Regions from separate parts of the Homo sapiens genome. Here all the other regions are linked to region 3. Evidence: promoter capture Hi-C in 16 types of primary human blood cells and fetal thymus (Javierre and others, 2016). All regions are on one chromosome and are shown on one strand. Each heading gives the region's core, a stretch centred on a gene start or on the middle of the fragment in contact. The rest is flanking DNA. Distances are from core to core; before and after follow the strand shown. Region 1 overlaps PEBP4 (phosphatidylethanolamine binding protein 4). Region 2 overlaps PEBP4 (phosphatidylethanolamine binding protein 4). Region 3 holds the start of EGR3 (early growth response 3).

What was found. The method cuts DNA at HindIII sites, captures the fragments that hold promoters and counts their contacts. A CHiCAGO score of 5 or more calls a contact.
Region 1: a contact is called between a fragment that was not itself captured here and the fragment with the promoter of EGR3 in region 3, in 4 of 17 cell types (endothelial precursors, fetal thymus, total CD8 T cells and 1 more). The highest score is 6.7, in endothelial precursors.
Region 2: a fragment that was not itself captured here is called in contact with the fragment with the promoter of EGR3 in region 3 in 1 of 17 cell types (M1 macrophages); the score reaches 5.9 in M1 macrophages.

The regions. Positions count from the first base shown.
Region 1 is chr8:22,915,154-22,917,853 of GRCh38, forward strand. The region is part of intron 3 of PEBP4 (phosphatidylethanolamine binding protein 4); the gene reads right to left. Among named protein-coding and RNA genes, the nearest start is that of PEBP4, 11 kb to the right of the region's middle. The HindIII fragment of the contact is 556 bases long and covers 1,109-1,664 here.
Region 2 is chr8:22,893,724-22,896,423 of GRCh38, forward strand. The region is part of intron 3 of PEBP4 (phosphatidylethanolamine binding protein 4); the gene reads right to left. It overlaps LOC124901907 (a long non-coding RNA gene), which reads right to left. Exons shown (of 2, transcript XR_007060854.1): 2 at 1,328-2,700. Among named protein-coding and RNA genes, the nearest start is that of PEBP4-AS1, 17 kb to the left of the region's middle. The HindIII fragment of the contact is 1,551 bases long and covers 543-2,093 here.
Region 3 is chr8:22,692,123-22,694,822 of GRCh38, forward strand. It overlaps EGR3 (early growth response 3), which reads right to left and starts at 1,358. Exons shown (of 2, transcript NM_004430.3): 1 at 669-1,358. The coding sequence starts at 822. RefSeq lists silencers at 388-457, 1,320-1,439, 1,384-1,547, 2,430-2,649 and enhancers at 1,592-2,237, 2,070-2,179, 2,220-2,319. The HindIII fragment of the contact is 8,376 bases long and covers 1-2,700 here.

The sequences.
Region 1 (2,700 bases), core at 137-2,636, 220 kb after region 3:
CCTAGGTTGCAGGGTGGGCACCTTGCCTTCAATCTTACCTTTCTTCCATTCTTCCACCTGCTGCTGGAGTGACCTTCCCAAATTGCAAATCTGATCACATTTACCAGCCTAAAAATCAAATGGTGACTCTCCTCCCCCAGCCACCAGCCAAACTTTAAGATAAACTCTAAACTCCACACCAGGGCCATGAAGTTCTTGGCTCCTAACCATGGATGTGCCCCTGCCCTACCCGCCCCGACCCCCGACCCAACCACAAGCCTCATCCCTCACCTCACCATCCTGGCTCCCATCTGTCCCTTGCTGGGTCCCGGCTCACTGACACCCTGTGTCCCCATGCTTGCCCGCTACCTGTCTATCTCCCCAGCTATACTGCAAGCTCCGTGATAGTGTCTTTCGTCTCTGAATCAATAGCACTGACATGGTGCCTGATGCAATGTGTTCAGTAATATTTACGAAGTGAGTCACCGCCCATCCCCAACACCAAATAGTCCATGGCGGCTGCAGTCCCCTGAGCCAGTGGGCCTGCACTTGACCGCCTCCACATGTAGGAGAGGAGACTCCACATGTAGTCTACTGGAAGACGTCTCTGCTCCATCCATTAGGGTCTGTTCTTCTAGAATTGCTGTGGGTGTTGGGAGCCCCGTGTCCTTCCTCGGCTAATCATTTTGTGACTGCAGCAGCCTGTATTTTTCTGCTCTGTGTATACAGAGAAGGGTTGGTAGGGGCGGTGGACCTGTGAGTTCCGAGCTCTCTTATAGAGAGGAGAGTTCCAGGCCTCTAGAAAATTTGGGTTGAAACTTGTGTCTCCACCATGGGCCAATGAGGGCGAGAAGGTGCTCCCTGGGAGGCTGCGGCTAGAGGCCTGGGCTGGCATGAAATGCACTGACCCAGGTGGATAGGGCACTCAGGGCCACCTGCTTTGTGAGGAGAAGAAATAGTGCCTGGGCCAAGCCTGATTGGAAACTCCAGGGAGAGCAGGACAGACCGAGGCAGCCTTTTGTTCCCTCCCTGTAATGCAATGCACATTCCCCACTTAAAGGCAATTTCTGCACTTCAAAAGGATTCCAGCTGGCGAAATTTAAGGTGGAGAATAAGCCCCCAGTCAAGAAGCTTCTCAGGGGCCTTTCAGTTTTCCTTGGCTTGAGAACGGGATGCATTTTTAAATGTTTGCCTCTTCATGTTTGTCAGAGCGCCAGGGGAGAAACGCTTCCTCTTACTTCCACACCTCTCTCGCTCAGCCATAGCTGGCACGGGAGCCAGCCACGTTTTCCTGTGTTACTTTGCCTTCTCATGAACCTGCCTGACTTCCTCTCTTTCTCTGCCTGCTTCCCCACCCACCCCCCAGCTCACACCCCACCCCTAGGGGGAGGAGAGAGTCCTGCTGCCCTGGGTTCACTAGGTTTAGCAGCTTTCCTTCAACAGATGCTGAAAGGGCCGACAGTTTGGCTGACACAGCTCATAGCTCACACTCCAGGAGATGCTCTCCCACATGTCATTCATTCATTCATTCATTCATGCATTCATGCATTCATGCATTCACCTGTTCACTCTCTCACCTAGTCACCCAGTCAGCCAGCATGGCATCTGAGGTGCTGGTGGGGCCCACGGGTGACTCAAAGAAAGACAACACATAGTCTTTCTCTCCTAACTTACAAAGTGCTTGAAGCTTTGAGAGACAGGAATGAGCAACTACAGCACAAGACACAGGGAAGTCAAAACCCAGTTTAGAGGGTAGGAACATTTTAAAAGCACAGAGAAAGAAAAGATCAGCCAGGGATGTAGGTGGAGCCCAGAGGGAGGCAGTCAGGGAAGGCTTCCTAGAGGAGGAAGCATTGTGACGGGAGCAGGGTCCAAAGACGCCAAGGATGGGGAAGTGGCCAATGCCAGAATATGGAGGTGGGAAGCTCTATGGTGGGCACAGAGGCACTGCTGCACCCCTCTTTCCAGGGCTTTGGAGTTTGCTGGGGGCGGGGGAGGGGGGGGTGTTCCCAGGCATGTCCAATGGCAGTCACTGCTTTGGTGGCATTGCTTCAGTCACCTTGGAAGCAATGCACCATCCCCACATAGCAGTCACCAACTCGTGCCCTTCTCCATCAGGCCCAGAAGAAATACCTTCATGCTCTTCTCTGTCCTAAACACTCAGGCTCCCCGCACCCTTTTCTTGAGGGACCCAGGTAGCACTTGCTCCTCCAGCCTCACCAGTCATGCCCTCTCCCTTAAGGGAAGCTCCAACTACCACCTTCCCTAGGAAGAACTATCCTTCCTGCCCACCCCCTTCCATTCTAACCAGGGAAAGCTTCCCTTCGGCCAGCCCACCCCTGCCTGTGCCAGCGCCCCCTGGTGTCTCCCTTAGAGCCCTTGCCAGTGGCCCACTGGCCAGGCCCATGGGCTCTGGAGTTGGGCAGACCTGGCTTTGACTCTGGCTCTGGCACCTTTCAGCTCTGTACTTGGCCAGATTACTCACTTCCATAGGACCTGCCTTGCATTTCCTACCTAACATCCTTTCACCCTTATCTGATCAATCACACCTTGACTTGCATTCAGGGCAACCATCCTCCTCTACTCTCAGTCCTTGTAGATTAAGGGGAGCTGTAGAGGGTCACTGCTAGGTTCAGGGATAGGCACAAGACCAAAGCGAGACCAATCCTGTGACTTTTAATGGATGGAAAACCCTATTTCCACTGGGGTTGACAAATTGGT
Region 2 (2,700 bases), core at 68-2,567, 200 kb after region 3:
CACAGCAATAGAAACTATTCAAAATAAAACACAGAGAGAAAAAAGACTGAAAAAAACCCACCAGAATAGCATATCAGTGAGCTGTGGGACATCTTCAAGTAGCCAAATATACATGCAATAGGAGTCCCTAAAATTCCCTTTTAGGGAATATTAGAAAAAATATTAGAAGACATAATGGCTGAAAAATGTCTTAATTTGATGAAAACTGTAAACCCACAGATCCCAGAAGCCCAACCAAAGAAATGCCAAGCACAAGACACATGAGAAAACTACACCAAACACATCACAATCAAATTGCTTAAAACCAGTGAAGATGAGAGCACAGGTTACCATTAGCAAATGTGTCACTGGCAGCCCGCGGCATATAGTAGCAAAATAATCTTGATTATCAAGTGTGATTACCTAGAACAAAGTACCCATTGAAGATAAGAGTTTGGCGGAATTGCACGATAGATTATTATGTCAGAATGATGAATATAAAGATGTTGGAATAAGATGACTTCTTCTGCCAGAAGTGGGAAAAGTAAAGAAAAATGGTTAGAAGCTTGAGGTTTAAATTCTTGGCACAGCCATGCATAGTGGCTCACTCTATAATCCCAGCACTTTGGGAAGCCAAGGCAGATGGATGGCTTCAGCCCAGGAGTTCGAGACCAGCCCAGGCAACATGGTAAGACCCTGTCTCTACAAAAAATAAAAAATAAATAAAAAAAATTCCAAGCATAGTGGCATGTGCCTGTAGTCCCAGCTACTCAGGAGGCTGAGGTGGGAAGATTGCTTGATTCCAGGAGGTCAAGGCTGCAGTGAACCGTAATCATGCCACTGCACTCCAGCTTGGGCAACAGAGTGAGACCCTGTCTCTAAAAATAAAATAAAATAGTAATAAATTCTTGGCTCAAGGCTCAATCAGAAGAGCAAGGAACAGTTAAGACTATCCTGAAAGAATCTCCCACGGTTTGTAGTTTCAGGGCCAACAAAACTGAAATCAGAAGTGAAGTCTGACCCAGCAGGTTGTAGAATTACAACCTAAGTTAAGTTCACAGCCTCATCAGGTCTCTTATGGGAGATGGTGTTGACTGGGAAAGATGGAACCCTGTGAATGGGGATGCTGAATTCATATAACTGAGTCTTAGACCCTGCTGAGCCTCCCTTTCCAGCAGAAGCTGCCCCTTTTCCCCAGGTCCTGTCTTGCAAGAGAATCCTGATTCTCCCTGAGGTCGACACTTACCACCCCTGGCTGCTCCTGACCTATTCTAGAATCAGATTTCAGCATGGCCAAGGGAGACAAGCACAAAGTCTGATTCTGAAACAGTAGACTTTCACACCAAAGTAGGTGCCATTTGTTTTTTAATATTTATTGGCAGAAATCTGAGAAATGTATAGTAAGGTGCTGATCACGGAGGAAAGAAGATCATTTTCAATTGGGCCATATTGATCAATATGGATTCTGGATCCAAAGTACTGGCTGGATCATCTGGGTATGGTTCTGTTCACTCAGTGGGTTATCTGAAATGAAACCTGAACTGAATGGCATCCTATACTAAATAAAGCTAAGGTGACAGAAGTTCCTTGATATAAAGCAAGGAATCTTAATACCTGGAGAGGCATAATAATGTTGGGGTGGGCTTACACATGTGTTCCCCACATACCCTCCTTCACTCTGTCCCAGGAGAACATACTTTCTTCACAAGCATTTAGACATGCTTTGGTGAGGGGGACACCGGCATTCTGTTTTCCTTGGTTGTCTTCAGAATTTATCTTTGGTTTTTAGCAGTTTGATCATGACACATCTAGGTGGATTTTTTTAAAAATTCTGATTAAGGTTCTCTGAGTATCTTGGACTTGTGGTATGTTGCCTTTCTTTAACAAGTTCTTGGTCATTATCTCTTCAAATAGTTCTACTCTGCTCTCTTTTCTTAATGAGATCCCAACTATACATATGTTAGACCATTTTATGTTGTCTCACAATGCTTGGGTGCTCTGTTCTGTCCCCCAGCCTTCTTTTCTCTCTTTATATTTCTTTAGATCATTTCTGTTGCTCTATCTTCAAGTTCACTGATTTTTCCAGTTTATATGTTACGTCTAATTTGCTGAGAAGCTTAAGTTCCTGTTTCAGTAACCTGACTAGTTTTCCAAGTTTGTCGGAAGTTCTGCTTTTTTGGCCACATCCTTGAACCCAGCCTAGGTGGCATTGGCCCTGCTTCCCATGGGCAGGTTTCTTCATGCCAGCCTCTCTGCCTGTGCTCCCAGTTACTGCCTACCTACTGCCCCCTCTGCCCTGGGGCAGATTTGCTGTGTGGCATCAGACAGTTGCCTGAAAGTTGCTGGTATTGTGGTTGGAGAGATGAAACCATGTTCCCAAATCCCACATCCTTGCATCAAGTAAGAAAAGTGCCACTGGAACCTAGAATGATGTGGGAACCCAGAAGAAGAAGATGTCCTAGTCTGGGAGGAGAGACAGGGAATGGAGCTTGGACAATCACTGTCATAGCTGGAGTGTGATCTGATGAAGATCTGAACTAGAGAAATACATAGGCCACGGTAATACTAATTAATCAGGAATGGTTGAGTTTTGCTCCCGCTGACCTATCAATTCTTACTCCAATGGCTCCTTTAACCGATAGTTGCAGTGTTCAGTGGGGTATTATCCAGGCTCCAACGTGTTTGCTCAGAGCCATCCTCAGGCTAAGGGGAGTCTTCCCT
Region 3 (2,700 bases), core at 108-2,607:
GCGGCGGAAAACCGGCCGGTGTCTCCATGGCGGGAGAGGCCGCCCTTCCCCAGCTCCCCGGCCCCGGGATCGTTCCCCGTGGCAGGCCCTCGCCCCGCGGGTGAACCCCCTCCTTCTCCCCGCCGTCCCCACACCCCCACGGCTTTGCTGAACGCCCCGGAAAGGCAGCGTCGCAGTACCTCTCCCACCGCGGGGACTCCACGCCGCACATGGCTCCATCCCGGGTGGGAGGCTGAGGGAGTAAGGGGGGAGAGCGCGGGTGAAAAAGACGCCGGGCTCCTCCCGGGAAGAGGGCGACAGCACCACGCCTTGCGCGTAGCCCGGCGATCGGGCCCCCTGCGTGGTGAGGGAGAACCCCAGAGCCGCTCGCACCTACCTCCCTCCGGTCGGCGGCTGCCCCCACCCGGGAGAACCGAAGCCTCTACCGTGGCGTCGCCAACCTAGCCTTCTCGATCGAGGAGGGCGGGAGGAGTGGGTGGGAAAAGCAACTCGCCCCCCGCAAAATTCCCAGCGCGCCCCCATCTCTCCATCCATTTATCTATCCACCCATCCACCCATCCATCCATCCATCCATCCATCCATCCATCCATCCATCACCAGGTCGTCCCCTCCTCCTCTTCCTCTCCCCTTCCTTCCTCGCTGCCTCGCCGCCTCCCCGCCGCCCTTACCTGTAGCCATCTGATTGTAATGGACTACCGAGTCGCTGCTGCCGGAGAAGAGGTTGAGCGCGCTGGGGATCTCCTCGGGGTACAGATTGTCAGGCAGTTGGTTTAGCAAACTGCTCATGGTCACCGGCAGCTTCTCGGCGAGTTTGCCGGTCATAGCACTCCCGAGCTGCCGCCGCCGCCGCCACCGCCGCCACCGCCGCCGCTCGCTCCTAACGCAGCTTCCAGGCAAGCGGCATCCGAGAGGCGATCCGTGGTGCAGGGGAAAAGCATGCGAGAGGGAAAGTTCGGGGGGAGGGGGGAGGGAAGAAGGGAAGGGATGGGCCAGGAGAGGGGATCTTCTCTTTTTTGGGGGGCGGGAGAGGGCCCCAGGGGGTAATCCTCTTGGGTGCCTCAGCTGGTGCGGTATGAGGCTGGGTCGTGGGGGGGGTGGGGCGTGTGCGGGGGGTGGGGTGGGGGCTGGGCTGGGGGGGGATCTCGGCTCAAGGGGGTCGGACGCGGCCTCAGTATTGATCTCACAAACAGACACGCGCCCGCCGCCCCCCCGCCCCCCGATCTGCCACCGCCACCGCCACCGCCACCGCCGCCGCCGCCGCCGCCGCCGCCGCCGCCTCTGCCGCCGCTGCCGCCGCTGCTACCACCACCACCAGCCCCGCCGCTTCCTAGCAAGCTCACTGCTGCCCAAAAGCTCCCAGCCAGGGAACTCCACCAGCCTATTTATCTGAGCCCCGGGAAAGCTCCGTGACGTAGCTGCCCATATATGGACAGACAAAGCCCAGCCGAAGGGGCGCGACGTCACAATGGAAGCTCCTCACAATGGAACATTAGAAAGCAGGAAGCGGGCCGCAGCCAACGTGCGGCGCCCGCACCGCTCGCGGCTCTTGAAAAAAAGAGAAGGGGAGAAGAAACAAGAAGAATGCGAGAAGAGAGAGGAAAGAAGGATACAGCTGCATGCAAAGCGCAAAGCGCGTAGCGTGGAGTCGAAACACCAGTAACTCATTGTGTGTGTTTATTTGAGGTTTGCGTTAGGAGAGCGCATTGGGGAGAGGTGGGCGGTGGGGTGGGGTTGTTTGCAAGTGGTCTCCAACACCCCAGCAGTTAGAAAGAGAGTTGAAAACATCTGGCGAAATCCCTTTGCAGCCCGGGAACTGCTGGGGAACCCGGAAGGCGTGCGTTGCGCCCCTGCTACCTCAGCGGCTCCAGCGTTCGGGATCCTATCCGAGATTAAGAGAAAGGGAGTGCTTCCCTTTGTGGGGGGAAGGAGGGGTGCGCGCAGGGTTGGGGGGGTGTTTCAACTTGTCAGAATTCCTTGGTCCAATATCCCAAGAACTTTTGTGCCAACTTCACTCTGATTCGCCGCCCCTGCCCCTCCCTGGGCCCCTGACCCGGCGCTGACTCTAGGCTGAGCGCAGTGGCGAGGAGATTCGGAGCACCCCAGCAGTTGCGCCAAAGACAAGAGCCCCATCCATATGGGGTCGAGGATGTGCGGTTTTCGTGGTGAAGAGGAAAGAATGAAGTTGAAGGGATAGATAAACACGTGCACTGAATCCCCAGTAAATTCCCTAACGGTTCCAAGCAGCCTCTGTGGCCACAGGATGGCAGGAGGGCCCAGCAGGCCCGGGCGCAGTCGCTGTCTACTGCTGCCTGCGAAGGGCCCGCCAGAGTTCCAGAAGGAGGACGCCGAACCCACAGTCTCTGAGCCACTGGGGGCCTCCCCTAGTCTCTGCCCTCCCCCTCGCCTTCCACAGGGCTGTCCCCATTGCTGCCTGCCGGCGCTCCGCAGTCAAGGGCGGCCTGTGTGCCGACCCGGAGCGCTTTCACCTCCCGGAGCGGCAGCAGATCCCGGGGGCGGCTGCTGTGCTCCCTGGGGCCTGCTCCCGAGGCGCGCGCAGCCGGCCCGCGGGCGAGGGGGAGGAGAGGGCGGGAGCATGGGGGTGCGACCCCAAATCACATCGGCTTGGCGGGGGAGGATTCCCTCCTCGGTGGCCGCGTGGGCGCGGTGAATCCCTCGTCCCCTCCTGGGGAGTCGGGGTTG